Linked DNA regions of Homo sapiens: regions 2 and 3 are each linked to region 1. The links are contacts of gene promoters, found by promoter capture Hi-C in human tissues and cell types (Jung and others, 2019). All regions are on one chromosome and are shown on one strand. The core of a region is centred on a gene start or on the middle of the fragment in contact, and the rest is flanking DNA. Distances in the headings are between cores, read along the strand shown. Region 1 holds the start of PCOLCE (procollagen C-endopeptidase enhancer). Region 2 overlaps SRRT (serrate, RNA effector molecule). Region 3 holds the start of TRIP6 (thyroid hormone receptor interactor 6).

Region 1 (5,099 bases), core at 1,805-4,304:
CATGCCTGTAATCCCAGCACTTTGGGAGGCCAAGGCAGGCAGATCACCTGAGGTCAGGAGTTCGAGACCAGCCTGGTCAACATGGCAAAACCCCTTCTCTACTAAAAATACAAAAATTAGATGGGTGTGGTGGCAAGGACCTGTAGTCCTAGCTACTTGGGAGGCTGAGGTGGGAGAATCACTTGAACCCAGGAAGGCAGAGGTTGCAGTGAGCCGAGATCGCACTGCTGCACTCCAGCCTTCCGACTCTGTCTCAAACAAAAAAAAAAAAAAGAAAGAAAGAAAGAAAAGATAATACTAGAGCAGGAAGGGAGGGATAGTGGAAGGGAAAGTCCTTCCTCAGGGTGGTGTTGGGGTCTAACCTGGAATTGCACAAGAAGCAAGTCTCCCCGAGGCTGGCAGGCAGGATGAGAGGCTGGACTGGCATAGACGGGTGGGCTGAGAATGAGGGGTACACCACAGCAGGCCCTGGGCTCAGGCAAGGAGCTGATTTTCTGGGGGCATAGATGAGATACCAACAGAAGTGCAAGACCCTATGTGACCAGTTAGAGTATGGGGGCTGCAGGGGTCAGCAGGGCAGACCTGGGGCGTGGGACAGTGCTGGCTCCCATTTCCTCCTCCCCAGTTCATTCTGCCCCGAGCCTTCCAGTCAACCTTTTCCCACCCCAGCCCCCCCGTCCCTTGGTGCTCCCTGCTCAGGGACCCTGGCCGTGTGTCCCCAGGTTTGTTACCTGCAGCGGCCCATCACCCTGTGGTGCGGCCTCAACCACTCCCTGGTGCTGAGCCAGAGCTCAGAGTTCAGCAAGGAGCTGCTGGGCTGCGGCTGTGGGGCTGGGGGCCGCCTCCCAGGCTGGCCCAAGGGGAGTGCCTCCTTCGTCAAGCTCCAAGTCAAGGTCAGAGCGGGGTCAGGAGAGTGGGCACCCAGGGAGGATGAGAGCCATGAACCAGGAAGCCCACAGGCTGTAGCTGGGGCTCCTGCAGGGACCCAGGGGGTCCCATTTCCCTAGCACCACCCCACCTCCCTCCTCTGCCGCACACCACGCTCTCTGCTTTCTCCCTTAGCAGACTGTGCTGGCCTTGCCCAACCTCACACACCCCTGGGACTTAGCCGGCTCAGGGCTGGTGTGAGAGGGAAGAATGCAATAGGCAGATTAGCCCGGGCACCCTGGGAAACCCTGCAAGGAAAGCACCACTCAGCCATGCCCCCTTTCTCTCCTCCTCCAAGGTCCCTCTGTGTGCCTGTGCCCTCTGTGCCACCAGGGAGTGCCTATACATCCTGTCCAGCCACGACATTGAGCAGCACGCCCCCTATCGCCACCTGCCAGCCAGCAGGGTGGTGGGGACTCCTGAGCCCAGCCTGGGGGCCAGAGCACCCCAGGACCCCGGGGGGATGGCCCAGGCCTGCGAGGAGTACCTCAGCCAGATCCACAGTTGCCAAACGTTGCAGGACCGCACGGAGAAGATGAAGGAGATCGTAGGGTGGATGCCCCTGATGGCCGCACAGAAGGACTTCTTCTGGGAGGCCCTGGACATGCTGCAGAGGGCTGAAGGAGGCGGGGGTGGTGTAGGGCCCCCAGCCCCTGAGACCTAATCCCCCTCATGCTAGCCTAGTCCCTGGAGGAGGGAGTCCGGCCCCAGGCCAGGGACTAAGGAGCAATGACCATTGTGCACATGCGTGTGGGAAGGGGTTGCTAGGGGGTGGGGACGGCTAACCAGGGTAAGAATGTTCAGGGGGCTGCCCAGGAGGGGCCCCCAACCTGACTATCATGGACAAGAGATTTGATGGATAGAATAAAAGGCTGCAGCGAGGCCTGGTGTGGAAGCCTTGGGGGCTGGGAGGGACAGGGGCAGGGATGGGGTGGGTGGGTGCCCGGCTTGGTGGGTGCAGGAGGGCAGGAGCCCAGGCAGGGGCAGGCAGCACAAGCAGCTCCAGGTCTCAGGTGCAGCAGAGCTGATGCTGCCTGAACCCTTCACATTGTTGTCCACTCCCTGCTCCCAAGAGCACACCTGGTCGTTTGGACTGGGAAGTTCTGGCCCTACCTTCTGGAACAACTCTATGCACAGATGCTCTTGGCTACCCCACTGGGATCCCCTGCCCACTAGACTTGTCCCCATCCTGAGGCAGCCTGTTCCTCCTGACCCCCGAAAGCTTCCCACCCATCTCCCTTCGGCCTGAAGCCAGCCCCCCTCCTCTCTCCCTTCTGTTTACCTCCCAGGTTTGGGCTCTATTTTCTACTCCTTCCACCTCTTCCTGAGTAACAAGGACACTCCCTTCATCCACACCCCATGCCTCCTGCCTTGCTTCCTGTACCTTCAAGTAGTTGGAAGAGGTCATGGGTGAGAATTCCTTCTCCTTGGCCTAGTCTGGCCCAGGTCTGGAGAGAAGGCAATGGAGATGTGAAGTGGAGGCCAGGTGTGGTGGCTACGCCTATAATCCCAGCACTTTGGGAGTCCGAGGTGGGCGGATCACCTGAGGCTAGGAATTTGAGACCAGCCTGGACAGCATGCTGAAACCCTGCCTCTACTAAAAATACAAAAATTAGCCAGGTGTGGAGGCATGCACCTGCAGTCCCAGCTACTCGGGAGGCTAAGGCACAAGAATTGCTTGAACCCGGGAGGCGGAGGTTGCAGTGAGCAGAGATCGCGCCACTGCACTCCAGCCTGGGTCACAGAATGAGACTCTGTCTCAAAAAAAAAAAAAAAAAAAAAAAGAAATTGAAGTGGAAAATGAGCTGGCAGGGGTGGTCAGGCAGGGGGTGAGCAATGAGGGCTCCTGAGCTGAGGAAGCAGGGGCGGGGGGAGGATGGGGGCTAGGGAGTCCTCAGAAGTTCCCGGAGATACTCCCTCACTGGACAGAGTGGGGTTCCCGATGACGTTACTTGAGGCCTGGGAGACGGCCTCTGCCCCTCACTGCTCCTCCCCCTCCTAAGGTCAACATTTATGTGTCCTAGACCTAGAGAGGTCCCAGGACACGCCACTGTCCCGCCTTCCCCATTGCCCGCCCCACTGGCCAGTCCCCACGCCCACACACCCAAGGCTGCCCCATCTGGCGCTGATTATCCTGCTGCTGCCGCCACCGCTGCTGCTGCTCTGCAAAATTCAGCTGCTGCCTCTGTCTTGAGGACCCCAGCGCCTTTCCCCCGGGGCCATGCTGCCTGCAGCCACAGCCTCCCTCCTGGGGCCCCTCCTCACTGCCTGCGCCCTGCTGCCTTTTGCCCAGGGCCAGACCCCCAACTACACCAGGTAGGTCTCTTGGCATCTTCCAGACAGCTCCAGTGAACTTCAGACCCCCGATTCCTTTGGGGTTATGCCTGGAGATATTTTGGGTTCCCTTGCTGACACACCACTCCCCAGATTCCCCACCGCCTCACCCTTCTCTGGCCCCCAAATCCTCCCCATCTGCTGCAAGACCTTGGTCTCCTGCAGGCCACCACTGCTCCCATTCCCCCACCTTCGTCCTCTGGTCTCTTAAGTCTCCCCACCCACCCAGATCCTTGACCCCCCATAGAACCCAAGAGAGAGCCAAGCTCCTGAACTTGCCTGGTAGCTGGATTCCAGGAAGGAATTCGAGAGGGATTGTAGGGGGAGGAGGGGGCAGTGAGTGGAGACTTGGGAGTCAGAATCTGAAGTAGTTTGGAACAGGGGCAGGGCTAAGGTGTGGAGCTCGCGGAGCCTGGCCTCCAGGTTCAATCAGAGGGCCATCGCCACTGCAGCTCCCTCCATCTCTCCACCCCCTCCCCCCCACCGCCTCGTGGCTGTGTCCACATCTGGAAGTAGTTAGGCGGCTCCTGTCCCTGGACTGCCAGGCAGAGTGAGGCGGGAGTCTGGAAGGGGGGCCGAGGAGGATTCCGGGAATTCCTGTTGGGGTGGGGGTGGGGACTCTTGGGGTTGGAGGGATGGTCGAGTTGCCAGGCCCACTTTTCCCTTATCTTTGTGGGAGTCTGGGACACCCCAGCCCTGTCCTGGCTGGTGGAAGCTGCCCCAGGTCTCTCAAGGCCTTTCCATTTCATCCCCCAGCTTCCCTCCTTGGAGTTTCATCCTCATCACCTCATCCCCATCTTGCCAGTGCTCCCCCGTCCCACCCGTCCCTGCTCTTTCCTGACCCCTTTTCTGTTCTCCAGACCCGTGTTCCTGTGCGGAGGGGATGTGAAGGGGGAATCAGGTTACGTGGCAAGTGAGGGGTTCCCCAACCTCTACCCCCCTAATAAGGAGTGCATCTGGACCATAACGGTGAGAAACCCCTCTGGGCACTACCCCTTGTTAAAGTCTCAGAGGCAAAAAGGCCTGACTGCGAAGGGACCCCCCCCCCGTCCCCCCCGCACCACCTTCTCAACCTGGGGCAGCTCCAAGTGTCTTCCCTCTGTCACTGAAGGCATCATTCCCACCGTAACACGCATCATCTTAACCCTTCCCTCAAATCTTCATTCTCCAGTCCCCGGCCCTCCCTCCTCTTCCAAAGCCTCAGCTCTTGTCCCCTGCACAGGCTACCAGCAGAGCTGCAGAGACCAGGCCCTCTGCTCTGCACTCACATGGAGGCCCCTTCCCATTCAGTCCGTTTCTGCAAGAAACGCTTGGGGCAGGGGAGCTGCCCTCTGGCTGGGTTGTGTGGGGCCTGACTCTGTGGGTCCCCGCCTCTGTCCCCGCTATCAGGTCCCCGAGGGCCAGACTGTGTCCCTCTCATTCCGAGTCTTCGACCTGGAGCTGCACCCCGCCTGCCGCTACGATGCTCTGGAGGTCTTCGCTGGGTCTGGGACTTCCGGCCAGCGGCTCGGACGCTTTTGTGGGACCTTCCGGCCTGCGCCCCTAGTCGCCCCCGGCAACCAGGTGACCCTGAGGATGACGACGGATGAGGGCACAGGAGGACGAGGCTTCCTGCTCTGGTACAGCGGGCGGGCCACCTCGGGCACTGGTGAGAACTCCCTCACCTCCGCCTTCCCCCCCTCCAGGCCCCGCCCCGGCCGCAGCCCCGCCCCCAGCCCTAACCTCCGCCCCGCCCACCCCGCGCCCCAGTGCCTAGGGCCCCCTACCTCCCTGACCCATTTTCCTCACTAACCGCCCCTTCAGTCCCTCCTCCCCGTCTTCTCTCCCCTCCTCCCGCA
Region 2 (5,099 bases), core at 1,254-3,753, 280 kb after region 1:
CCTCCCACCGTTCCCCAAAAACCAAGCCTTCCTGACCGGGGTCCCCTCCAGGCTGGGCAGCATTGCAGAGATTGACCTGGGTGTGCCGCCGCCCGTGATGAAGACCTTCAAGGAGTTTCTCCTCTCCCTGGATGACTCGGTGGATGAGACGGAGGCCGTCAAGCGCTATAATGACTACAAGCTGGATTTCCGGAGGCAACAGATGCAGGATTTCTTCCTGGCGCACAAAGATGAGGAGTGGTGAGTGCCCCTACTTCCCTGGACCTCTGCCCTGGCATGTCCCCCTGGCCCCGCTGGTGGAGCCACAGCCCTGTCCTCTTCCCAGTTTTCCCTGTCCAGAACTTTCTGGGGGCGGGGGTCGGGAAGTATGACAGCATTGGCTGATGGGGTCTCCCCCTCACTTCAGCAACTGCCACGGCCCCCGCCCCGCCCTGTCTCCTGTCCTGCTGTCCTCAGAGAGTGGGACACCTCCAGGCAGCAGGCCAGAGCCACTTGGCCCCTTGGGGCAGCAGACAGACTGCTTCCCACTTGTTGGTGTTGGGTCATTGTCATCCCTGATCACCAGGACCCTGTGTGGCTGTGGCGTCCTCCTAAAGCGACGAGTGAATCCAGACAAGAAAAGCAAAGATCTCGGTCGTTTGACAGAAAAAGAATTTTAATTTTTTTTTCCTTTTGTGGATGTTTTAATTTTAATCAACCATCTTTTCCCCCCTTCCTGCTCCTCCTCCTCCTCATCCTCTTTCTGCTCCTCCTCCTTGAAAAGAGCCAGAACTGGGAACTACACCCGCTCATCGACGGAGCTCGGAGCAAACCCACCTCCACCCCCACCATACCCAGCCCATACATGAGCCCCTGGGCTGAGCTGCGCGGCCCCGGCCAGGCAGACAGGCCAGGGCACTGCTGTGCACAATGCAGCGGTTTAGCTGAATGTGATTGCTCAGGCAGCTAGCCAGTCAGGCCCCACTGCGGAGTCCCGCGTGGGCATCTCGGCCGGGCGCCCAGCCAGGAGCCAGCCGGTGGCCCACCAGCCAGCATGGGCCCTGGGCGCCGCTAGTTAAATCTTGAGCTCTGTTTGACCAAGCGGCCAAGGTAAAGATCCTGGAGGTGATGCCTGCGGCTTTCCTTTCCTCTTCTGCCCCACTCGTGGTTCTGTTCTGTCTTCGCTGTCCCCTCTCTCGAATTGCTCTGTGTCTTTGTCCTAATCTCTCAGCACCTTCATTCTTCTCTGTTTCTGTTCTTGCTCCCTGCCTAACACCACCTTCTTCCCTGTTGGTTTTTTTAGTTTCTCTCTCTGATCTTTAGTTTTTCCCTTTGTTTTCGGTTTCTGGGACTTTCTCACACTCTCCCCTTTCCTCCCTTTCCCCTTTTCCTCATACTCCTCATTTCTTCTGTTTTCCCTCTGAGGTCCTATTTGAAATGTTTTATTTTTCTTCTCCCTAACCTTCCAGCCCTCTCCTCTCTCTCCCCCTGTGGGCAGGACCTGAGGCTCTAAAGGGCACTCCAGTGTCTCCCTTCGGTCTTTCCTGTCCCTTCACCGTCTTGCTTATCTTCCCACGGGTGGAGAAAGGTGCCCTGCCTCTGGGCTTTTGCTATCTGGCCCTCTGTCTTCCACCTCGGGGTGGAGGGAGTTGGCGGGAGCAGTTTTTGAATGACTGCAGTTTGGGGTTGGTGAGGAGAGGGAGGTTCTTCAGGGCCTGCTATTTCCTGAGCCTTCCTCTCTGAAGCTTTGGGAAATGACACCTTTTTACTACGTTAGTGTTTCCCAGAGATTTAAAGTGGTAAATCTGCCTCTCCTACCCTGGCGTCCCCCTGTAGTCATTGGTCTTCCCAAATCCAGAGCTCTTAGTTCCTGGTTCTCCCCCAAATCTTCACAGAACACAACTTCTGGTTCCTTTTGGGGTGTTGGGTGGTTCTAGCGCACCCCTATCCCTTAATCTCTCTATTTTGATGACCTTTTGTGGTTGTGAGAGGAAGGGGGATATGCCCTGTCTTTCCTGGGCCCCTTCCCACATCCTGGCCTTGGCTTCCAATAACTGTTTTGTCTTTCCCTCCCCCGCTTCGTTCCCAGGTTTCGGTCTAAGTACCACCCAGATGAGGTGGGGAAGCGTCGGCAGGAGGCCCGGGGGGCCCTGCAAAACCGACTGAGGGTCTTCCTGTCCCTCATGGAGACTGGCTGGTTTGATAACCTTCTCCTGGACATAGACAAAGCTGATGCCATTGTCAAGATGCTGGATGCAGGTGTGCGGATTTGGAGGGGTGGCAGGCATCTGGGCCCCATGGGGGTGGGGGTGTCTGGGGATCAGGTAGAAGCCGGTTGACAGGAGCCAGGGCCCTGGGGTCATGACCTCTGTTCCCTTTGTTGGTAGCCGTGATTAAGATGGAAGGAGGCACGGAGAATGATCTTCGCATCCTGGAGCAGGAGGAGGAGGAGGAGCAGGCAGGAAAGCCTGGGGAGCCCAGCAAGAAAGAAGAAGGACGGGCTGGAGCAGGCCTAGGGGACGGGGAGCGCAAAACCAACGACAAGGATGAGAAGAAGGAAGACGGCAAGCAGGTCCGAGCCCTGGGTCTCCTAGTGTTGTCCCTGGCAGCCTGGGGGAGGGGGGCGGGTAGGGGTCCATAGGAGCTAGAAGTAGGGGGCTGGGGAAAATGAACCTGTGGCCTCAGCTGTGGGGGTGGGGGCCCTCTGATAAAGGTGGGAGGGGAGGTTTGACATCCCCAGTGGTTGTCTCTTACCATAGGCTGAGAATGACAGTTCTAATGATGACAAAACAAAGAAGTCGGAGGGTGATGGGGACAAGGAAGAGAAGAAAGAAGACTCCGAGAAGGAAGCCAAAAAGGTGAGGTGTCTGTGGCCTGGGGTCAGAGTGTTGGGGCTGGGGTTCTGGCACGCTGACTTGTCCCCTCTGCTGTGGCTCACACAGAGTAGCAAGAAGCGGAACCGGAAGCACAGTGGTGACGACAGCTTTGACGAGGGCAGCGTGTCAGAGTCTGAGTCGGAGTCAGAGAGCGGCCAGGCTGAGGAGGAGAAGGAGGAGGCCGGTAGGGTTTCTTTTCTGCTTTAAAGTGCGTTCTCCTAATGCGGGTGGGGAGGTGAGAGGTTGGCGACATTGACGGGAGGGTGGGTGGCTTTTAGGGGAAAGCTTCTGTATCCTCCCCACCACAATCAGTAATAAAAATGCACCAACTCCTTCCTACCCCCCTTCCTGCCTAGAAGAAGCGCTCAAGGAGAAGGAGAAGCCCAAGGAAGAAGAATGGGAGAAGCCCAAGGACGCCGCGGGGCTGGAGTGCAAGCCGCGGCCGCTGCATAAGACCTGCTCCCTCTTCATGCGCAACATCGCGCCCAACATCTCCCGGGCCGAGATCATCTCCGTGAGTGGGGACCCGTGGAGTCAGGGCAGGGCTGATGGAGAAGTGGAGGGTAGAGGGAAGGCAGTGGGGCCCTGCCTGTGACAGATGCCCCCGTTTCACCTGCTAGGGAGGCCCCTTCCCCAGGTTCCATGGCCTCCGAGGACTAGTCCTGATAGCGCCATTGGCTTTCAGGTGCTGGTGTTCTGAAGCCCTTTAGTGGTTTTTCCCTGCCCAAGGATGGGAAGAGTGATAAGGCAGTTAGTCCCTAGGGTTCTGAGGGCAGTGGGGGATTGGAGGAAGAAGCGAATGAATCCTTGAGTCACTGTGGGGCTGCTTTTCTGCTTCTTGCAGCTTTGTAAAAGGTACCCAGGCTTTATGCGGGTGGCGCTCTCAGAGCCCCAGCCAGAGAGGAGGTGAGTAACTCGGTGCGTTGGAGGGAAAAGTGCAGGGGAACGTTAATGGCCAACACCAACTCCCTCGCTTGACTATGCTAACATTTTCTTTCTTGTGTAGGTTTTTCCGTCGTGGCTGGGTGACCTTCGACCGCAGTGTTAACATTAAAGAGATCTGTTGGAACCTGCAGAACATCCGTGTGAGTGCTGGGGGTGGGACTGTGGGGAAGAGGAAGGGAGACTCTGTGCCACACGGGACCTCTGTGTGACTTTGTTCATCTGATAGTTTGGTTGTTCTGCACACTCTTTGACCGTTTTGTCTGGCTACGTTGTCTCTGGGCAAGGCTCTAGGGCGTTAGCATGGACGGAACCTATGTGGTCCCCGTCCCCAGGGAGCTCGCAGTCTGATCAATCGCTGGTGCTCAAGAGGGAAGGGTCTTAGAGCTGCTGTTTCTCTGGCAAGCGGGGTAAGTGGGGTAAGCTGCTGATGATGTCTGCCCTCCAGCTCCGGGAGTGTGAGCTGAGCCCTGGTGTGAACAGGGACCTGACCCGGCGCGTTCGCAACATCAACGGCATCACCCAGCACAAGCAGATTGTGCGCAACGACATCAAGCTGGCGGCCAAGCTGATCCACACGCTGGATGACAGGACACAGCTTTGGGCCTCAGAACCAGGGACGCCTCCCCTGCCCACGGTCAGTGACTCCCCAAAGGACTTTGTCAGAAGCAACTGGTAGTGCCTCTGCTGTGGGCACCTCTGACCTTACCTATCTGTAGCCTTGAACCCTTGCACCCACTCGCCTGCTCACTCATTTGCCCCTTCGTGTGTGGGTAGCAGCACCTCCAGATTCCAGCAGAACTGGGGGGATGCTAGTGATCATTTGTGGCTGGGGTGGAACAAAAGCTAAAATAAAGACAAATCTCAAGGGGGCAAAAGGTGCCATTTATGTCCGGTGAACTCCTGTCCCCTCGCTGCTCTTTCACTTGTGGAAAGTCTCAGGTTACCTCCTCTGAAGGTCTTCTCTGCCTTACTTGCTTCTCTTCCTCCCATCAGAGCCTGCCCTCGCAAAACCCGATCTTGAAGAATATCACCGACTACCTGATCGAGGAAGTAAGCGCCGAGGAGGAGGAGCTGCTGGGGAGCAGCGGGGGCGCTCCTCCTGAGGAGCCTCCTAAGGAAGGGAACCCGGCAGAGATCAACGTGGAGCGGGATGAGAAGTTGATTAAGGTGCCAGTGGCAGCGCGGGGCACGTGGGGGCTCGGGCGGTGAGGGCAGGAGCTGAACGCTCGCATTCACTTCCCTTAGGTCTTGGACAAGCTCCTCCTTTACCTGCGCATCGTGCATTCCTTGGATTATTAC
Region 3 (5,099 bases), core at 1,649-4,148, 270 kb after region 1:
TTCATGAGAAGGGGTCTTGGAAGAGGTCTCTGCGTCTCCCTGTAAACTCAGCAATTATCCGATTCCACAAGGGTTGTTCAAAAATTAAGAACGAAGAGCTTGTCAGCAGGGACTTGGAGCATTGTGGTTGCCACGTGCCCAGCTCGGTGGCTCAGAGTGTGGCCTCTCACGCTGGATGGAGGCGGATTGCGTTGACCTACCTGCCCCAGTACCTACCAGATATGAGCCTATGGGCAAGTGACTTCATCCCTTGGTGCTTTGGGCTCCTTATCAGTAAAAAGAGGAGACTAAATATTACCTACCTCATAGCATTACTTCGAGTTTCAAATAAGTTAAAATATAAAGTGCTTTCTACAGGACATAGCCCCTGGTAAGCGGATACCATGCAATGAACCACCATGATTAGGGTTTTGGTAAAACCTACTAGGGTTAGGGTTTACTGCAGTAAACATACGGGGTAGCCCTGTTTCTTTTTTTCTTTTTTTTTGAGATGGAGTCTCGCTCTGTTGCCCAGGCTGGAGTGCAGTGGCGTGATCTCGGCTTACTACAACCACCACCTTCCGGGTTCAGGCAATTCTCATGTCTCAGCCTCCTGAGTAGCTGGGATTATAGATGCCCACCACAATGCCCGGCTAATTTTTGTATTTTTAGTAGAGATAGCATTTCACCGTATTGGCCAGGCTGGTCTCAAACTCCTGATCTCAGGTGATCAACGTGCCTCAGCTTCCCAAGATGCTGCGATTACAGGTGTGAGCCACGGTGCCCTGCCTGGTCCATTTTTTCATCTTCCCATTGCAGAGTCTGGGACGCTATTACCCTGGGGATTCAGGTCATGAGCTTGGCTGATCAGGGTGTCTGGTTTGCACAACAGAGTCAAACTCGCATCCCCTGCCGTGAAACAGATGCCCCGCTAGAAGCCGGGAGTGGACAGCATCCTCCTCTCCATAGAATTGGAGTGCTCATTAGTGGCAAGAATCCTAAGGCGAACTTTGCCTGTTTAAGTGGAGGAGATTAGTCACTGAGATAATAAAATAAATGCATGTGAAAGTGTTTAGGAAAAATGAAAAGTCTTTATGCAAATATGCAGAATGTTGCCGTAAGAGCCCGTACACAGTGGGAATGTCATACCTATGGCTGACGCACCTTGCTGTCAGTGTGTGGGAGCGTGGTGTAAACTTAGCCTGTGAGCCTGACTCCTGTCTGTTCCTGCCTTCCCCGCTCTGCCCCCAGGTGGCATGAAGCCCAACACGTTGGTCCTAGGTTTCTACGATGACGCTCCACCGCAGGACCATTTCCTGACGGACCCGGCTTTCTCTGAGCCTGCAGACAGCACCAGGGAGGGCAGTTCCCCAGCTCTGAGCACCCTGTTCCCTCCTCCCCGGGCTCCTGGGAGCCCCCGGGCCCTCAATCCCCAGGACTATGTGGCCACGGTGGCCGACGCCCTCAAGATGAACAAGAATGTGGTGCTGGCCCGGGCCAGCGGGGCCTTGCCCCCTGAGCGGCTGAGCCGGGGGTCTGGGGGCACCTCTCAGCTGCACCATGTGGACGTGTGGCCCCTCAACCTGCTGCGGCCCCGGGGTGGGCCCGGCTATGTGGATGTCTGCGGCCTCTTCCTGCTGCAGATGGCAACCATCTTGGGCATGGTGCCCGCTTGGCATAGCGCCCGGCTCCGGATCTTCCTGTGCCTGGGGCCTCGGGAGGCGCCTGGGGCGGCCGAGGGGCGGCTGCGGGCACTGCTGAGCCAACTGAGGATCCGGGCTGAGGTGCAGGAGGTGGTGTGGGGCGAGGGGGCCGGGGCTGGGGAACCCGAGGCGGAGGAGGAAGGGGACTTTGTGAACAGTGGGCGGGGAGACGCAGAGGCAGAGGCCCTGGCACGCAGCGCCAACGCCCTGGTTCGGGCCCAGCAGGGGCGCGGCACAGGAGGAGGGCCGGGTGGGCCGGAGGGTGGGGATGCTGAGGGCCCCATCACAGCCCTCACCTTCCTGTACTTGCCTCGGCCGCCAGCCGATCCCGCCCGATACCCCCGCTACCTGGCGCTACTGGAGACTCTAACCCGAGACCTGGGCCCCACGCTGCTGGTTCATGGGGTCACTCCAGTCACCTGCACTGATCTGTGATGCCCCTGCCTCCAGGGCTAGGTAGAGAGGGCCCAGGCAGGCGGCCTATCCTGATCCTTGGAGGAGGAGGAAGAGGAGGCCACTGTGGCCCGTGGCCCTGCCCTTGGGACGTGGAGCCCAGGGGAGGTTTGAAGGGGATCCTGGGCTTGGGCATCACGCCCACCTCCTTTGGCAGAGGGACCCCAGCACACTAACTCTGGGTGGCTGTCCCCACCGTGCAGGGGAGGGAGTCCGCAGCCTCCCTTCACTGGTGCCTTGATGCTAGGGGCCAGGCCTCCTCTGTGACTCTGGGCTACCTCAGTTTCCCCATTTTGGCCAGACTCACCGGCCCACTGGGGTGGTGATGTTTTCGTTCTGTTTTATTTTTCTAACTCTGCTGACCATGAATAAAAGACCAAAACACTACAGGCTGGCTGAGCAGTGCTGGTGGGTAGCTGAGAGGGAGGGGGTGGGAATGGAGAGCTCTGCAGAGGGGTGGAGATCGGAGCCTTCAGCCTCCCGCCGCGAGGCTGCCACGTGCAGGGCTGGGGTGCGGGGCCCGGACGCATCCGTGGACTTGGAGGCTGGCTCGGGCCCGCACCTCCCATCCCCAGCTGCCCGCAACCCCCAGTGACTCGGGATCCCCCGGAGAGCCCTCCCCTCTCGGCAGGAGGGGGCTGACTCAGGGAGAAATGGCAGTTTAGGGCCTAGGGGGCCACGTGACCCTCCCCCAGGAATGTGGTGACGTCATCGGAGGCGTGGTCGTCCCCAAAATTAGGGAGGAAGAGGAAAAAAAAAAGCCAGAAAAAGTTTTCTTTTCTGGAGTCCCAAACGAGGTGCGGGACGGAAGAGGGGGTGAAGGCCAGAGGCTCGGGGCTTCAAGACCGCTGTCTGGAGTCCCCCTTTCCAGGCCATGTCGGGGCCCACCTGGCTGCCCCCGAAGCAGCCGGAGCCCGCCAGAGCCCCTCAGGGGAGGGCGATCCCCCGCGGCACCCCGGGGCCACCACCGGCCCACGGAGCAGGTAAGGCAGCCCTTGTGAGACAGAAGAGCCACCCAGCTGTGGCGCTCACCTCTGTCCTACCGCTCCAGCCTCCCGCCCTGGCTGCTTCCTCCTGCCCCTTCCCCAAGCCGAGGCGGGGGGAACAGCCGCCTGCGCTCTCTTGGGACCCTAGATTTGGGGGAGGAGGTAACGAGAGGCGGAGAGGGTGGCTCCTCAAATATACACCCCTCCTGTCCTCCGCCACCCCACCTTTGATTTCTCTTCCCTCAACCCAGCACTCCAGCCCCACCCCAGGGTCAATTTTTGCCCCCTTCCATCTGAGCAGTGTTACCAGGCCCCAGGGGGACCGGAGGATCGGGGGCCGGCGTGGGTGGGGTCCCATGGAGTACTCCAGCACACGCAGGTGAGACCCGGGATCGTGGGGTGGGACATGTGGGATCCCCCAGAACCGAGTCTGAGGGACCCAGGACAGGAGAAGGCCTATGGTGATTTGCATTCTTCCTGCCCTGGCTCCATCCTCAGGGGCTCCCTGCAGACAGGGGGGGCCTTCGCCCTGGAAGCCTGGACGCCGAGATAGACTTGCTGAGCAGCACGCTGGCCGAGCTGAATGGGGGTCGGGGTCATGCGTCACGGCGACCAGACCGACAGGTGACTCTGCCCCTCCTCCCCGTCAGCACCCTGCCCCCTTCTCTGGACTCTCAGACCCAGCCTGATCGATCCCCCATGTGTGTAATGTGCACCCCAGCATGGAGGAAGCGTGGCTGCAAGTACCAACATGTCAGCCACTTGAGGACGGGACCTTGTCAAATGCAAAAAGCCTGTGCTTCCCCACAGCCAGGGTCATTTCCACAAATGTGGGTCTTGGAGTGGGGTCCTTGCTTACGACTTCTGGCCTGCGTTTCTCCTCAGGCATATGAGCCCCCGCCACCTCCTGCCTACCGCACGGGCTCCCTGAAGCCAAATCCAGCCTCGCCGCTCCCAGCGTCTCCCTATGGGGGCCCCACTCCAGCCTCTTACACTACCGCCAGCACCCCGGCTGGCCCAGCCTTCCCCGTGCAAGTGAAGGTGGCACAGCCAGTGAGGGGCTGCGGCCCACCCAGGCGGGGAGCCTCTCAGGCCTCTGGGCCCCTCCCGGGCCCCCACTTTCCTCTCCCAGGCCGAGGTGAAGTCTGGGGGCCTGGCTATAGGAGCCAGAGAGAGCCAGGGCCAGGGGCCAAAGAGGAAGCTGCTGGGGTCTCTGGCCCTGCAGGAAGAGGAAGAGGAGGCGAGCACGGGCCCCAGGTGAGCCCTGGGGAACTGGGATTTCAGGCCCTACAGACAATGGGACACCGACTGGGTGGGGTGGCTGGTGGTGTTTTAGGGGGCTTTTTTGTTTTTTGAGACAGAGTTTTGCTCTTGTTTGCCCAGGCTGGGGTGCAGTGGTGCCATCTTGGCTCACTGCAACCTCTGCCTCCCGGGTTCAAGTGATTCTCCTGCCTCAGCCTCCTGAATAACTGGATTACAGGCACACGCTGCCACGCTTGGTTAATTTTTGTATTTTTAGTACAGACGGGGTTTCACTAAAACCCCAGTTTGTTGGCCAGGCTGGTCTCGAACTCCCGACCTCAGGTGATCCGCCTGCCTCAGCCTCCCAAAGTGCTGGGATTGCAGGCCTGAGCCACCGCGCCTGGCCAAGGGGCTGGTTTTGGAGCAGAGTCAGAGGTCTGGGACGTGGAATAGGTAAGGGCAGGGCAGTGCGGGGGAGCAGGATAGAACTGCCCATTGGGGCTGAGCGCGGTGGCTCATGCCTGTAATCCCAGCACTTTGGGAGGCTGAGGTGGGTGGATCACCTGAGGTCACGAGTTCGAGACCACACTGACCAACATGGAGAAACCTCGTCTCTACTAAAAATACAAAATTAGCCAGGCATGGTGGCACATGCCTGTAATCCCAGCTACTCGGGAGGTTGAGGCAGGAGAATCACTTGAACCTGGGAGGTGGAGGTTGCGGTGAGCCGAGATCG

What was found. The method cuts DNA at HindIII sites, captures the fragments that hold promoters and counts their contacts. A contact is called where the count stands out against the background at its distance.
Region 2: a contact is called between a fragment that was not itself captured here and the fragment with the promoter of PCOLCE in region 1, in 2 of the 25 tissues and cell types used here (IMR-90 fibroblasts and spleen).
Region 3: a contact is called between the fragment with the promoter of TRIP6 here and the fragment with the promoter of PCOLCE in region 1, in 1 of the 25 tissues and cell types used here (IMR-90 fibroblasts).

Annotation. Positions count from the first base shown.
Region 1 is chr7:100,599,309-100,604,407 of GRCh38, forward strand. It overlaps PCOLCE (procollagen C-endopeptidase enhancer), which reads left to right and starts at 3,055. Exons shown (of 9, transcript NM_002593.4): 1 at 3,055-3,243; 2 at 4,122-4,230; 3 at 4,651-4,909. The coding sequence starts at 3,149. FBXO24 (F-box protein 24) reads left to right here. Exons shown (of 10, transcript NM_033506.3): 9 at 723-893; 10 at 1,226-1,809. The coding sequence ends at 1,591. It overlaps PCOLCE-AS1 (PCOLCE antisense RNA 1), which reads right to left and starts at 4,730. Exons shown (of 9, transcript NR_038910.1): 1 at 4,530-4,730; 2 at 3,032-3,858; 3 at 2,312-2,375; 4 at 1,415-1,544; 5 at 732-881; 6 at 363-494. RefSeq lists an enhancer at 4,164-4,956 and a silencer at 4,964-5,099. The HindIII fragment of the contact is 8,861 bases long and covers 735-5,099 here.
Region 2 is chr7:100,882,002-100,887,100 of GRCh38, forward strand. SRRT (serrate, RNA effector molecule) reads left to right here. Exons shown (of 20, transcript NM_015908.6): 5 at 52-240; 6 at 2,069-2,238; 7 at 2,367-2,551; 8 at 2,739-2,837; 9 at 2,922-3,039; 10 at 3,212-3,369; 11 at 3,700-3,761; 12 at 3,862-3,940; 13 at 4,246-4,434; 14 at 4,794-4,967; 15 at 5,046-5,099. Among named protein-coding and RNA genes, the nearest start is that of UFSP1, 5.2 kb to the right of the region's middle. RefSeq lists an enhancer at 3,803-4,536. The HindIII fragment of the contact is 4,538 bases long and covers 235-4,772 here.
Region 3 is chr7:100,864,489-100,869,587 of GRCh38, forward strand. It overlaps TRIP6 (thyroid hormone receptor interactor 6), which reads left to right and starts at 2,899. Exons shown (of 9, transcript NM_003302.3): 1 at 2,899-3,118; 2 at 3,373-3,500; 3 at 3,620-3,745; 4 at 4,007-4,378. The coding sequence starts at 3,010. SLC12A9 (solute carrier family 12 member 9) reads left to right here. Exons shown (of 14, transcript NM_020246.4): 14 at 1,231-2,522. The coding sequence ends at 2,117. MIR6875 (microRNA 6875) reads left to right here and starts at 3,548; the gene lies at 3,548-3,619. RefSeq lists silencers at 2,547-2,636, 2,997-3,146 and an enhancer at 3,587-3,686. The HindIII fragment of the contact is 16,493 bases long and covers 1-5,099 here.